Linked DNA regions of Homo sapiens: region 2 is linked to region 1. The links are contacts of gene promoters, found by promoter capture Hi-C in human tissues and cell types (Jung and others, 2019). All regions are on one chromosome and are shown on one strand. The core of a region is centred on a gene start or on the middle of the fragment in contact, and the rest is flanking DNA. Distances in the headings are between cores, read along the strand shown.

Region 1 (7,800 bases), core at 1-2,500:
ACATTGCACATGATCGTCTTACTCATCTGGAGGTAGCCTCTCCTCTTTCTCACCTGGGAGGGTTTATTGCGTAGTATTTATAATTATAGACTTTGTGTTTAGGCAGTCCTGAATTTAAATAGTAGCTATGCTATTACATTGGTATGGCCTTGTTCAACTTGTTTAACCTCTTTAATCTCAGTATCTAGATTTGAAATATGTGAATGATCCTATCTACTGCACAGGGCAATGAAATTGAAATAGAATAGTATCTCTGCTTGTGTCATAATCCCTGCTATGGGATAAGTGTTACCATAGGGTGACCATTACTAAAACCCAGCTTAGAATTTGAAAAGCTACCAAAAAAAAAAAAAAAAAAAACCTCCTGGGAAAACTAAAGAGATGTACTGTCATTTATGCATTTTACTTGTAGGAGGTTCTGTGTAGCACTAACTCGGGGTCCTTTTATTGCTATTCAGCAAAGTACCAGTCCAGAAACAGGATAAAAAGAGTAGATTAGAATGGTATAAGATGCTACTAGAAGTGTGTGCCCTGATAGCAAGAAGCAAAGGCTGACACCTTTGCAATATGGAAAAAAAGAATAAAAGAATAAAAGGTACAGACAAAATGGAAATAATCAAGGGACTGGGGTGAACTTAAAAGGCCTTAATTACTTCTCCACTCATAGGATGAACCAAAGTGTTCAAGGAAAAGTTAAATTGTGTTTGAAGCTCAAAGAGATTAAGTCATTTGCCCAAGTTTACTAAATTTGTGTGAGGAGACCCCAGGTCTACTGACATCCAGTTTAGCATTCTTTCCAGTACAATTTGCTACTTCATCACTATGCTCTTCTAGTATGAATCACCACCATGTATAAATATAATACATAATGTAAATAATACACAGATACAAACGTTAACATGTTAAGTACCTCATTTCCCAGAAATCCCAACTTACAATATTCATGAATGCTTCTGGGTCCACAGCTTTAGTTGGCATATGTACTGAATTCACATTTCTCTGGAACATATACGCCACCAGAATCAGAAGCCACATTTCCATTCTGTGTGAGACAATCCACTGTCTTGACAAGGTTTCCAACATGGTCCAACATCTGCATTTATTTTTTCCTGCCAATGTAACAACTAATTCTAAAGTAAGAAGAATTTGTGGGTTTAAAAACTCTTCACATATTTTCCTGCTGCAATTCCCTCTTCCAATTCTGAAGCAAATTAGGCAAGCTTAGTTGGTAGGGAAAGAACACAAAGTAGGCTGGAAACATTGCCTAGGATGTCCCAATACTATCTGACTCCTCCCATTCCTCCCTCACACAACTTGTAATCCCTAATCCTTCAACTTCCAGGTGTGTAGAACTTTCTTTGATGTGACCTGGAATTTTGTGCATTTGATACAGCCTATTAAAACCCCTGTACTTTATCACCAGGTAATAAGGAGTGTAGGGAACCTCTTTCCTTCCACTCCTAGATTTTATCTTTCTTTGATAGATAGCAAAAGATGGAGTCTACAGAAAGCACTGAAAGTTTCTATAGTCATATTCTGGGTCTTCAATGATCACTGTTTTTTGGTTAAAGATAAGTGTTGTGATAAGTGCTTTTATTTAAAATATCTAAAATTTTATGGACATTTTCTACTTTTAGGGATGGGTGAGAACATTGATTAGAAGAAAATGAATCTTCCATGTTTAGCCCATTTCGTCTAGTTCAATTAAATAGATATACACAAAATTTTTATTTTAAGTTGTAATCACTAGTTAATCACTGGGATATGACTAGATGGATTATCTAGTAAATAAATCATCAGCTATTGTGTATTTTAGTTTTTTATATATATTTATTATATTTTAAGTTCTAGGGTACATGTGCACAACGTGCAGGTTTGTTATGTAAGTATATAAGTGCCATGTTGGTGTGCTGCACCCATTAACTTGTCATTTACATTAGGTATATCTCCTAATGCTATCCCTCCCCACTTCCCCCACCCCACGACAGACCCCGGTGTGTGATATTCCCCTTCCTGTGTCCAAGTGTTCTCATTGTTCAATTCCCACCTATGAGTGAGAACATGCAGTGTTTGGCTTTTTGTCCTTGTGATAGTCTGCTGAGAATGATGGTTTCCAGCTTCATCCATGTCCCTACAAAGGACATGAATGCTTCCTTTTTTATGGCTGCATAGTATTCCATGGTGTATAGGTGCCACATTTTCTTAATCCAGTCTATCATTGTTGGACACTTGAGTTGGTTCCAAGTCTTTGCTATTGTGAACAGTGCTGCAATAAACATACATGTGCATGTGTCTTTATAGCAGCACGATTTATATTCCTTTGGGTATATACCCAGTAATGGGATGGCTGGGTCAAATGGTATTTCTAGTTCTAGATCCCTGAGGAATCGCCACACTGTCTTCCACAATGGTTGAACTAGTTTACAGTCCCACCAACAGTGTAAGTGTTCCTATTTCTCCACATCCTCTCCAGCACCTGTTGTTTCCTGACTTTTTAATGATCCCCATTCTAACTGGTGTGAGATGATATCTCATTGTGGTTTTGATTTGCATTTCTCTGATGGCCAGTGATGATGAGCATTTTTTCATGTGTCTGTTGGCTGCATAAGTGTCTTCTTTTGAGAAGTGTCTGTTCATATCCTTCGCCCACTTTTTGATGGGGTTGTTTAAGGGATAATATCCAGAATCTACAAAGCTATTGTTTAAAATAATGGGTTGCAGCCTAGTTATTTTCATGAACTAAATGTCTCAGTTCAACTGAATGTGAGGCAAATGTGAACAATCCCTTAGCATACTAATGATTGAGCAGGTCAGGAGGGTTGATTTATTTGTCGTTTTAAGTAAAGAATGTGTTAAAAGTTAAAAAAATATTACTTAAAGTGAAATATTTCTCTATTACATCAATTCTTCAGGGTTGAGCTAACAGCAGCCACACCAATATGCAGACTTTTGGAATGTGGTGGGTGAAGGAGCCAGATGCTGAAACCAGAAAGATAAGTCTGTCAGAACATATCTTCCCACATGACTCAGCCTCCTCCACTTTGGGCTGGTTGCATGGGTGTGAAGAGGTAAGTCTGCATCCTTATCTGGACCAGTGTGAATGTCACTAACACAGCTAATCTGATGCCAGCTAGAGGAGCCATTTGACCTAATTAGAAGAGCAGAGAAAACACTTATCCAACACTCTGCAGAGCCCTGTGTCTTCAGCACCCCATGAGTTCTCCCTCAAGGTAGGCAAGATGAGATTTCAGAAAAGAATATGGGCTCCCATCACTGACATTTTAGGATTTGTAAATGTTATATAGCCAGAAAAAAAGATATCATTCAGCTTTCATTTTCAGAAATGTGAAGACACATTAAATGACTTGCCCCACATTGCCTAGCTAGACTGTGGCAAGGCCAGAACTGAGATTCAGATATTTTAATTTGCTGTTTAGCATTATGACTACATGGGAAAATATATAACACTTCGATGTCCTCTTCTCCATCAAAGATGAAGCCTAACCTACTAACAGGAAGCAATTACATCAATCTCTGTGAACTGTCTTTTTAAAAAGTTATCTTCTGGATTTAAAATTCAGAATAATTCCCAATGATGTCATTATGAGTTTGACAGATACCATCTGTCAAATACCATCTGTCAGATACCATATTACTTTGCTGTAATATGTTCAGGTAAGATCAACTCCCGCATTAGATTAATATGCTTGTGAATACTGTAGAGACTTTTTTAGGAGAGAGTTTATGGCAATAAACTGATTGGTTCAATCCCCCACCCATTCCTTTTTATTTTATTCCTTTTATTTTTTAGCTTTCTGCAGCTGCAGCCTTGGGTACTGAGTACATTGCAGAGAAAATATAATTAAATTTGGCTCTCAAATTCCTGGGGAACTTTATAAGGTCATAACTGTCATTTTGGAAGCAGGCAAAGTCACTTCCCAAGTCAGCTCAAAGAGCGACATTTTGAGCAAATATTAAATAAGTGCAGTTCTTCCCCACTGCAGAATTTTACAACACCCTTACCACCTTAGCAATCCCCAGCCCATGGAGAGCATCAGAAACATGATAAAAGAGATGGGAGGGGGCCGGGCGTGGTGGCTCACACCTGTAATCCCAGCACTTTGGGAGGCTGAGGCAGGTGGATCATGAGGTCAGGAGTTTGAGACCAGCCTGGCCAACATGGTGAAACCCTGTCTCTACTAAAAATACAAAAATTAGCCAGGAGTGGTGGAGGTCGCCTGTAATCCCAGCTATTTGGGAGGCTGAGGCAGGAGAATCGCTTGAAACCAGAAGGCGGAGGTTGCAATGAGCCAAGGTCCTGCCACTACACTCCAGCCTGGGCAACAAGAGTGAAACTCTATCTCAGAAAAAAAAAAAAAAAGAGAGAGAGAGAGATGGGAGTCCAAGTGTGCCAGTGTGTCTGCCCACTTCAAGGTGCTGATCTTGAGAGATTTCTCTTTAGACGCTTCTATTCAGGAACTCTGTGACCTTAGAAAATGGATTTTTGTCATCTGAGTACATAAAGAAGTAGGATCTGAAGTATCTGGATTTCTTAAAATGAAGAAAATTGATCTCCCTTAATGTACACTATCTATAAATTAATATTAAAATACAGAAAAGCAACAGGTCAAGTAGAATAAACATTAAGAAAAAGCTTTCTAATAAAAAAGTGAATGAAAATCAACCTGTGGCCCTACACATTCATATACCATGTGTAAAAACTGTAAAAACCAAAACAGCTAAAAAACCAACCAAACCAATAAAATGGTACAAAATAAAAACAATAACACAAGAATAAGGAAAAAAAAAAGGCTTGAAGCTGTAAAAACAAAAACATTCCCTAACCTGAAGGAAAGAGGTGGGAGCAAAGAGTACGTGTCAAAATCAGCCTCAGAAACTTCCACCCTTTATACACGGTACCCAGTAAAGCGCACCTCAAATTGGCTTAGTAAGTAAGTCCCTTCTACATTTCATTTGAACCATGAGGTGTAAAACCATAACATTTACCTTCATCTTTTGAATATGAGGTCAAACTCTCAAGGATTAACTCTATTTGGACATGAGAAATAATTCCTCTCAAAAATTAATGAAATAGTAAAAAAAAAAAATTAGAGCTTCTACAAATCCTGGTTCAAGTGAGGATTCAAGAATCAGAATGTACTATTAATGTGACCCAATTTATGCCCACAGTTTGTGAGTATCCCCGGTAATATGTATGCACTGAAATATACTTTTCCTCACATTTATTTGGCTTTAGAATACATAAAAATCAAAATTCCAACAATTGTTTCTAAACATTTTTAAGTTACATAATGTTTTGAGATGCTGACAAAAACAAGACTGTCTCCTCAGAAATATGTACATTTGCATCTCCATGCTAAATTTCATAATTTTTCAAGGGACGCATGGTCCTCTTGCATTTCTTCTGCAGAGCCGTTGGGCTTTGATATGGTTTGGCTGTGTCCTCACCCAAATCTCATCTTGCATTGTAGCTCCCACAATTCCCACGTGTCATTGGACGAACCTGGTGGGAGGTAACTGAATCATGGGAGCAGGTCTTTCCTCTGCTGTTCTCGTGATAGTGAGTAAGTCTCATGAGATCTGATGGTTTTAAAAACGGAAGTTTCCGTGCGTAAGCTCTTTTCTCTTGTCTGCCGCCATTCAAGACAGCCTTTGAGGCCTCCCAAGCCACGGGGAGCTCTAAGTCCAGTAAACCTCTGTCTTTTGTAAATTGCCCATTCTTGGGTATGTGTTTATCAGCAGCGTGAAAATGGACTAATACAGTAAATTGGCACCAGTAGAGTGGGGCGCTGCTGAAAAGATACCTGAAAATGTGGAAGCAACTTTGGAACCGGGTAACAGGCAGGGGTTGGAATAGTTTGGAGGGCTCAGAAGACAGGAAAATGTGGGAAATTTTGGAACTTCCTAGAGACTTGTTGAATGGCTTTGATCAAAAGGCTAATAGTGATATGGACAATGAAATCCAGGCTGAGGTGGTCTCAGATGGAGATGAGGAACTTGTTGGAAACTGGACTCTTGCTATGTTTTAGCAAAGAAACTGGCGGCAGAATGTTTTCTGTTTGAGTTACAGGTTAGAGGGCTTTCAAGATAGTGCTGTTCTACCCCAGTGTTGGACTGAGTTACTGAGTTTTATTAAAACTATTCTTTCAGGTTTTGAAAACTACACCGTTTAGTGTGGGGCTGTGCTATGGAAGCAATCTGAAAGTCAGAGTCAATGCTTTTGTGAGAACCAGTCTATAATAATGACCAAAACTGTTGTACTGAGTCAAGCTTATGTTCCACTCCTTCTCTTAATATGAGTTATCTCATAAGATACCCCGAGGTCTTCAGGCAAATGGTCTTCAGAGTGTTTGGATTACTTGCCCTCCCAGTTTGTCAGACATGCCTGCATGTGCTCTTAGACTCTAATTGGTATCTTAGCTACATCAATCAACATGTAATTGTTCTTCATATACTATACTCCAGTGTTGAAATATTACAAACCATTCCATATCAAAGTAAGCAAACAACCTTATCTCTGACTCTGGGCATTAGCCTACGAATTGCTTAAAGACCTACCATCTTACAGTTTTAAGGTTCTTTTTTCAAAGTCCAGCTAGTAGCCAATAATTTCTACCCTAGTCTGTGTATCCAGTAATTAACATAGGATGAGGAGTCAGACCAATAGCTCCACTACTTTCTATATATGTGACTTTGGGCAACTTTTCTACCTTTGCTGAGCCTGCATCCTCATTTGCAAAATGGTAACAGTATGGTACCTCCCTCTTAAGGTTGCTGTGAGAGTTAAGTGTGGTATGAATGCAGGACCTGGTGCAGAATAAGCATCCATCACACCTCAGCAATTTTACTTCCTGCAGGTTGTAATGGTTATGCTACTGGACAGTTGCTTCTCCACCATGGCCTCTTGCTGTTCTGCCTTGAAGTTTATAAGATAAACCAGAGTTTCTCCATCAACTCATGAAACTACAAAACATCTGCTGTAGAGCAGCAATAATATTTCCCCCAGACTGATTCAAGTGTGAATCCTGGCTCCTTCCCTTTCTGAGCCAATGATCTTGGTCAGGCCACTTAACCTCTCCGAGCCTCAGTTAATCTAACGTGAAAATAAGGTGCTGTGAGGATCAATGCGTAAATCTACGCCACATGGAACAAGCATATAGCAGGGGCTTAAAGAATTGTAATGCCTTTCCCCTTTTCTTTTCCTTCTTAAAGGAATTTGTCGTACGAACACAGTTATGGTAGCTTAAATTTTCTTTCTTTTTTTTTTCTTTCTTTCTTTCTTTCTTTTTTAAGAAACAGTTTCATTGTGTCATCCAATCTGGAGTGCAATGGCACCATCATGGCTCACTGCAGCCTCAACCTCCTGGGCTCAAGCAATCCTCCCACCTCAGCCACCTAAGTATCTGGGACCACAGGCACATGCCACCATGCCCAGCTAATTTTTGTATTTTCTGTAAAAACAGTTTTACCATGTTGCCCAGGCTGGCCTCAAACTCCTGAGCTCAAGCAATCCTCCTGCGCTAGCCTCCCAAAGTGTTGGGATTATAGGTGTGAGCCACTGTGCCCAGCCTAAATTTTCCATGTTATTTCTAAACCAGAATTAATTAAATCACAGTCTGTTAGGGCTGAAGTCATAGATTTCAGAAATCATTTAATTCAATATCCTCATTTATTTATTTTAAAATTATATAATTAAAAATTATAAAATACATGTTTGTGGTAAAACTTCAAACACTATAAAATACATACAATAATATGGACAAAATACTTTTCTCCCTG
Region 2 (7,800 bases), core at 1,389-3,888, 1.2 Mb after region 1:
CATACACATAACACATATAGATATACAGACACACAGACAGAAGCAGATTTTATACCCTTCACAAAGATTCTCATTTGCTAGCTTCGAAATAGTTTTTCTTTTCCTCATTCACACTATCCATCTTCCAATTATGTGTTTCATTGCCCTAAGTAATTGTTAGCTAGGCAACCCTAAACTTGCATTTCTAAAGGGACAACTCAGGTGAAACAAGGTAGAAAGTTTATATCTCAAAAGCACAGAAATAAGATTTGAGACCTAAATACTGTACCATCATTCACTCTAGCCAAGGAAAAAATAGTGTAAGTAAAAGTTTACTTAAAACAGGCTGTCCAGAAAAGTGCCTTAAACAAAGGTATGAGTTGTTATGTAAATTTAAAACAATTGTAAGTTTCTTATGTATACAGCAGACACCCTTACAAATGCAGATTTCCTATATAGATGTAAATTTCTTTTTAAAAAAGGTTTCAAAATAGCCAGTTAAATGCCAGAAAGGTGTATTTTCGTTCTAGGAGTGGTGTTTTTTTTGTTGTTGTAGTTGTTTTTTTTTGTTTTTTTTTTTTTAACTTAGCTACTGTTTCTTAGCTAAAATTACTGAGTTCAGAGCGGAGTCTGTTAAGGAATAAAGCAAAGAAAGCATTCTCTATGCCTGGACTCAGCATGGATAGATCTGAAAAGGAAGCAAGTCTATTTCATCTCTAACAAGTCTACCAAAATGTTTTATAAACATTTTACCCAGGATAGCTTTCTTTTTGCCTTCAGGGTAGGATAGTAACCAAGCCAAACATTTAGCAGATTTAATTCTTCTTATCAATTAAACGGTTAAGCTTTTTATTTGCCTTTTATAAAGAGTATTTTCTTTGAAAGCAATAAAAACATTGAAATCTTTTTAGAAGCTTCACATTAATAGGCATCATTGGATGACTCTAATTCGGGAGCCCTCATTTTCAAATTCAATTTTTTGTTTTTTAACAGCTCTTTGTGGCCATCATCAAATGTATTTCTTAAAGTGCAGTGTTGTCCATCTGGAATGTTCCATTGTAATGTTAAATTATCTTTGGTAAGATTTTGCCATTTCTATAGCATTTACTGCTTCTGGGACCTAATATTCATACATGTAAATGTAGGCATAGTTGGAAGGTAGATTCCTTAATTTCTGAATTTCTGAAGAAATTAAGGATCTCATTTTTACCTTGAATCTTGGCTTTGGTTCTCATATTCTCTTAATCAACTTAGTCAATGATTTCTCCCTACTTAAAGTGTGCAAGAAAAAGAAAGGGGGTAGAACACAAAAATATCTGCAAATTTCCAAAAGCTAAAGTTTGCACCCCTGCAGTTTTGCCATCTACTGCCAGTTTCTGCCTGACCCCCTCAGGCATCCGAGGCCTCTAACTGGATCCAAGTCAGTTAATTATTGGATCCAGTTCAGTGCCTGACCCAGACCAGCTTTTGTCATGACTTCTGAATCTAGTTCAGATAAAAAATGTGCTCAACCTCAGATAGCTCAAAACACAAATCCGTGGAGCTCTGGAATCCAAGAGAGAACTTATGATCCCCGGTTGCCGTGATTTAGCAATGGACACAATGGGGCTCGGCAGGTCCCTGCTTGGTCCCTTGGTGCTCCTGGGAGACACTGGAATCTCTACTTCAAATTCTACTTTTGACACCATCTAAATTTAGACAAACTAAATTTAACAAAGTTTAATTAAGCAAAGAGTGATTTGTGAATTGGGCAGCCCCCAAAACAAAACAGGTTCAGAGGATCTCCAGCAGCAGCCATATGGTTGAAGATTTATGGACAGAAAAAGGAAAGTGACATATAGAAAATGGAAGTGAGGTACAGAAACAGCTGGATTGGCTACAACTTGGCATTTGCCTATTTGAACACAGTTTGAACACTTGGCTGCCTTTGATTGGTCAAAACTCAGGGACTGGCACAAGAGTAGGTTACAGTATGTTCACACATCCAGTTAGATTGCAATTCATTATGCACAAGAAAACTTTAGGCTGAACTTAAAAATGAAAATTAAGTTTAGCTTTAGGCTAAACAGTCATTGTTCTGGAAGTCAGCCTAGGCCTTCCCCTGAGCCTCTCATTTGATGCACAAATCCCAATTGTCACGCCAGACGTCTTTATTTTTGTTTACTCTTAAAATCTTATTTTGTCTTACTCTTACTTTACTTTGGTAAGTTCCTCAGTGATGTCTTTTTTTTTTTTTTTTTTTTTGAGATGGAGTCTTGCTCTGTTGCCCAGGCTGGAGTGCTCAACTCAACGACTTAAATATCCATCAGTAGAGGAGTGGTTAGGAAAATTATAGTATATCCTTATATTAGAATTCTATGCAGTCATTAAAAAGAACAAGGTAGAGCTGTTTGTTCTAATATGGAACACTCTCTGAGATATAATGTTCAGTAGAACAAATGCATAACAGGTGCATTGCTCTTACCATTTATGTAAAAAGAAAAAGGAGCTATGGCGATAAGTACATGTTATATTTGCAAATTTTAAATATGCTTATGTTTGCATTGTATATCTCTGGAAAGATACATAAAAAATGATTGGCAGTAGTTGCCTCCATGAAAGGGGATCAAGGATAGAAGAAAGACTTATTGTTCATTATATACTCTTATGTACTATTTAATTTTTTTACATATGCTTGTATTAAATCTTTAAAAATCATAATATAGAAATTTAATCACTAGGAAAAATCCTGCATTAAAGTGGAGTGTTGAATACTAGAATCCCTACTGCTCTTTGCTTTGCTTCTCTGGCAAGAGAGTTTTACAATTATGAAGTAAAATAACCTGTATTTGAGTTGGACTATTTCCCACATACTATAAAGAGAAATATTTCAACAGTCTTTCAAAGACAAAGCATAAATCAGTTAATGACAGTGCCTGGATTGGAACTGAGAGTTACAATGGTCATGTTCGTGTATATTAATCCAACAGAAATTCTTACTTGACTCTAAGAAAATGAATGTGTATAAAGGCTGAAGAGGCAAATGGCTTTATAAAAATGACTTTATAAAAATAACCTCAAATTTTTGTAAGTAGCTGAGATTAAGCCAAGTATTTGAAAAACTAGGAGCCAGAATTTATAATCATAGAAATCATAAGTCAGGCTGTACCTGGGTAATCAGAATCGAGTGAGATTTAAGTTTCTCTATGGGATGGGGGTAGTGACAGTTTGCATTGACCCTTCACTCATTCTACAAGCTTCACTGAGGCCCTACCCAGTTGATGCCCAGCGTGGTTCAAGGGGCTGGGGGCACAAGTGGAGATTTCACTGTTATTTTCTCGCCCAGAATTCGTTTCCCCCTTTTCTGGTGACAGCATCTTGATTGTCCTTTGGGAAACCACCAGTCCTACTCTTGGTGCATGTGGCTGTTTTAGGAGAGACCAGCCTTGCATCCCTCCCCGCATGACTCCTACCAGCCACAGGAGGCGTATCTGGCATATGCTAAGCCCCTGGCCACTGTGCTGTGCATGGAACACAAAGAAAAGCAATCCTGGGACTTCTGTGGAACTACTGAGAAGATTAATCTCTCTCCCCCAGTGGAGACAGAAGTTGTAAGAATTTGAGCTTGAGGCTGCCAGCAGCCTGACAGAGGCCAACAGAAACCAACATAGAGCTGAGAGAGACAGACTCTGGGTAGAATCATTTGGACACTAGATCCAGCTACATCTGAAATAGATCTATTTCTGGACTTGGTAGTTCCAAGAATGAATAGTAATTTCCTTTTTGTCACTCGAAACCAGATGCTCGTGTCAAAGAGAAGAGCTACAAGACTGTTTCTGCCCCCAAGGTGCTCCAGTCCATTGGAGAAGCAAACACATAACTGAGAATGACTCACCTTGTGATGGCTGCTATGATGAGGTTCATACCTGGTGCTACAGGACACAGAGAGGCATAATAATGTGGTAAGACATTAGAGTTGTAGAGGATCTTTGAGTTTATCTGCAGTAATCACCCTATTCGAAAGGAGACTCTGAAGCCTAGATTTACCCAAGAGATGGAACGTAACTAACAATGGTTCTGAACTGCACTCTACCCCTCTTGCATTAAAGTAATTAAATGGCATCTTTTCCTGATTACCAACAATTTTTTTCAATATTCATTTATTTGATATTCATTTCTATGTATTCATTGAAGAAAATTTATAAAATATTTTAAAAGCCAAAGAATGAAATAAAAATACCCACACAAGTTTGGTCAATATCCTTAGACTCTTCCTTCGTGAATTCTTTATTAATTTTCTTTTTTTAAAAAAAATAGAATCAGTCTGGGCATGATAACTCACATTTGTAATCTCAGCACTTTGGGAGGCCAAGGCAGAAAGATTGTTTGGGCCCAGAAGTTTGAGACCAGCCTAGGCAACATGGCAAAACTCTGTCTCTACGAAAAAAAAAAAAAAAAAAAAAAAAAATTGCTGGGCATTGTGGTATATGCCTGTAGTCCCAGCTACTTGGGAGGCTGAGGTGGGAGAACTGATTGAGCCCAGGAGGTTGAGGCTGCAGTGAACTGTGGTCATGCCACTGCACTCCAGCCTGAGCAACAGAGCAAGACTCTGTCTCTAAATAAATAAATAAATAAATAAATAAATAAATAAATAAATAAAATAGAATCACTTTGTTTTGTAATCTGCTTCCTAAATTTAACACCATTGTTATAGGCTGCTTCCAAGTTTTAAAATTCTTATTCAGAGATGAATGTTTTTACAGACAAATCTTTGTGTCCATCCTATTTCCCTTGGACAAATTCTCATCAATGGAATTGCTAGATCAAGGAGTTCACATTTTGAGACAAAAGATCACTTTGCAATTTTAGGCCACATAGGTCAAGATTTTACAGCACACACTTAACCTTTACTAGAAGGGGCAAAAAACTCAAGTTAGCTGCATACAAGAAGTAACATGCATTATAATTGTAGGGGCTACCTTCCTAATGCAGACAGGAGAGGGAATAATTTCACTGAGCCAGAAAGCCTATCTCCTGAGAGAGGAAGCAAGGCATGAATACACAACTTGTACATCTGTAACATATCATAAAATCTAAAGAGTAAGGTATTAAGAAGAAAAGTTATAAACACCAAGAGAACTCTGTGCCTTCACTCGCTCTTACTTTAAATCCATCCATTACACTGCCTGTCCCCAGAGCCACTGACCCCAAGCATGAATCAAGCCATGCACATCCTTGCCCAAACCCTTACATCGCTCTCTGCCTTCTCCCCACAATTCTTTAAGGAGACAGCCAAGTCTCTTAGCATATGACTCACAAGCTGTATTTTGAACCCTATCTCCTCTCCATTTACCTGTCCCAATGCACCCAGTGTTGCGGACATGGCCACTGTTCACCAAGGGGACCCTGCACGAGATCCACTCTACCTTGATCCACACTGTTTCCATTTTCTACAATGATATTCTCCCCCATCTCTACCTGTTGAAATTCTGCTATTCTTCAAGGCGTTCATCTGGTTTTGAATGACAATTACTAAATTGACTTAAGCAAAAAAGGAAATAACTATTTGTTCTTGGAACTGCAAATTCCAGAGGGGCTTTGGGCACCTCATGGTCCACTATAACATAAGCCAAGGGAAGGAGAAATTTGCTGGGATAAGCTTGGTAAGTTTGCAGAGGCGGTGGCATTGTACACAGCAGGCTCCTTGAGAGCAGGGATGGATCTCACCGAGCTTCCTCTGATCAACCAGCTCTGTGCCTCGCGCAAACACATCGCCAAATAAATGCTTGTGGAATTGTATTTTTCAGGAATTAAACACAGGTGAAATGACACAAAATTTACTAATCCAGCAAGATTGCATTTAATTGAATTATTCTCCATTACGTTATTATATTGGCCATTCTGTTTTTGATCCCAACCTTCCTAAACAGTCAAAGACTCATTCTGGTGGCTTAAAATTTTTTAAAAAGAAGCTCATTCTTAGTGGGTGGGGTGTTGTTTGCAATGAACTTCAGCTTGAAATACAGCCTTTCAGCATTTACTGGCAGTGTGAAATTCCATGTTATGGTTAGAGAGTCTGGAAACTGATTTGAAATTGGCCATTGTAGTTTGTTTCAGGGGAACATGAAAAAGGGTTGTATTAAAAAAAAATTGGGCTAAAGAAACCTGTTATATTTTCCCCTCACACTCCCCCAGTACACATACAAATCTGTGTGTCAGATACTTTAACAGAACTCCATGAAATGAATCTCTAGTGTGCAACTGACAAAACAATTTTGAAAAGGGCTTTATAACAGCTTGACTTGTTGCTGAGACCTCAGGACAAGAGGAACCAAGAGAGCCTTGTCCAACTGTTGACTTGCTTTTTATGCACTTCACTCCGCCCGAAGCAGCCGAAGAATGTTGCTCAGGGTGTTTCTGTACACACTGTGGGTAGCTGGTATGAGTGAGGTTGACATCAGATACTTGCCAATACATAAATCTCCAATATATTTCCTAGGCTGTTTCAAAACGTATGCTGTGCAGAAACACAGGTATATTCAGAACGTAGGGGTTTTAGAAAGCTGAAGTTGCCATTTGAAACTCTCCTGAGAAGAGCAGCACATCGGCATCCCAATGAGAAGCCTGAGAACCTCTTTCTTTTCTTTTCTTCCTTTTCTTTTTCTTTCTTTCTTTCTTTCTTTTTTTTTTTTTTTTTTTTTTTTTTTTTTTTGAGACAGGATCTTTACTCTGTTGCCCAGGATGGAGTGCAGTGACATGATCAGGGTTCACTGCTGCCCCAACTCCTGGACTCAAGTGGGAACCTGGCTAATTAAAAAACAATTTTTTTAGACATGGGGTCTCACTATGTTACCCAGACTGGTCTCGAACTCCTGGTCTCAAGCGATCCTCTTACCTTGCCCTCCCAAAGCGTGGGGATTATAGGCATGAGCCACCATGCCTGGCTGTGAGAACCTCTTTGGCAGGTGCCTGGGTGCCTGGTTTAGGCTTTGAGCTGGATGCTGAGATAGAGACAGATCACACTCTATGTCTGTCCTCATGGTGCTCACAGTGCAGTGGGAAGGATGGACCTCTGTATGAATCACTGAATTCTGTATAATCCACACAATAATAGAATCATACAGAGGCAACAGGGAAAACTGGGGGTATTCTGGGCCTGAGCAAACAGAAGACACTTCACAAAGCATATGCCCCATGAGCTGGATTTGGAAGGGTAAACAAGACTCTGCAAATGGACAGGGGCAAAGGGCAGCATGGCAGATGGAGCCTGTGTACAGAGGCACAGCAGCCGGGAAAAAAACCTGCCCAGTGTGGGAAATCACAAGTGCTTCAGGGAATTACCTCAGAAACACAAAGTGGGAGGTGAGGGAGAGGCGGGAGGGAAGGCTGGGCAGAAAGGAAGGGCTGAGGTCACAAAAGACGTGGCTGTGTGGGACATCTCCACCCCTGAAAGGGAGCTTGCGAAATGTCTTAAGGCAGTAGTAACACGGTGGGAGTTAGGCAGGGAAAATGCTTCTTGGTGGGAGAGTAACCGCTGGTGCTTGACAATCTTGAGTTGATCCTCCAGATCAGCTGTTCATCCTCTCCCCTCTGCTCTGCGCCCCGGGAGGCTGACCTGCACAGCCAGGATCTGTAGGCTCCCTTCCCTGCAGCTTGGTTGGTTGCATTTGGCAGGCACTGGCAGGAAACCAAAGAGTAGGAAGAGAGAAAGGCTAGGTACTGTATTAATCAGACTTCTCCAGAGACACAGAACCAATGGGGTGTGAGTGTATATTTCACATATATACATATACTATACTATAGAGAGAGAGAGAGGAGAGGGAGATATTTATATTAAGGAGT

Evidence for each region. The method cuts DNA at HindIII sites, captures the fragments that hold promoters and counts their contacts. A contact is called where the count stands out against the background at its distance.
Region 2: a contact is called between a fragment that was not itself captured here and the fragment with the promoter of LIPM in region 1, in 1 of the 25 tissues and cell types used here (mesenchymal stem cells).

Annotation. Positions count from the first base shown.
Region 1 is chr10:88,796,180-88,803,979 of GRCh38, reverse strand. It overlaps LIPM (lipase family member M), which reads right to left and starts at 1,250. Exons shown (of 9, transcript NM_001128215.1): 1 at 937-1,250. The coding sequence starts at 1,083. The HindIII fragment of the contact is 4,906 bases long and covers 568-5,473 here.
Region 2 is chr10:87,618,439-87,626,238 of GRCh38, reverse strand. No RefSeq gene overlaps it. Among named protein-coding and RNA genes, the nearest start is that of PAPSS2, 38 kb to the left of the region's middle. RefSeq lists enhancers at 3,612-3,661, 3,702-3,801. The HindIII fragment of the contact is 3,557 bases long and covers 860-4,416 here.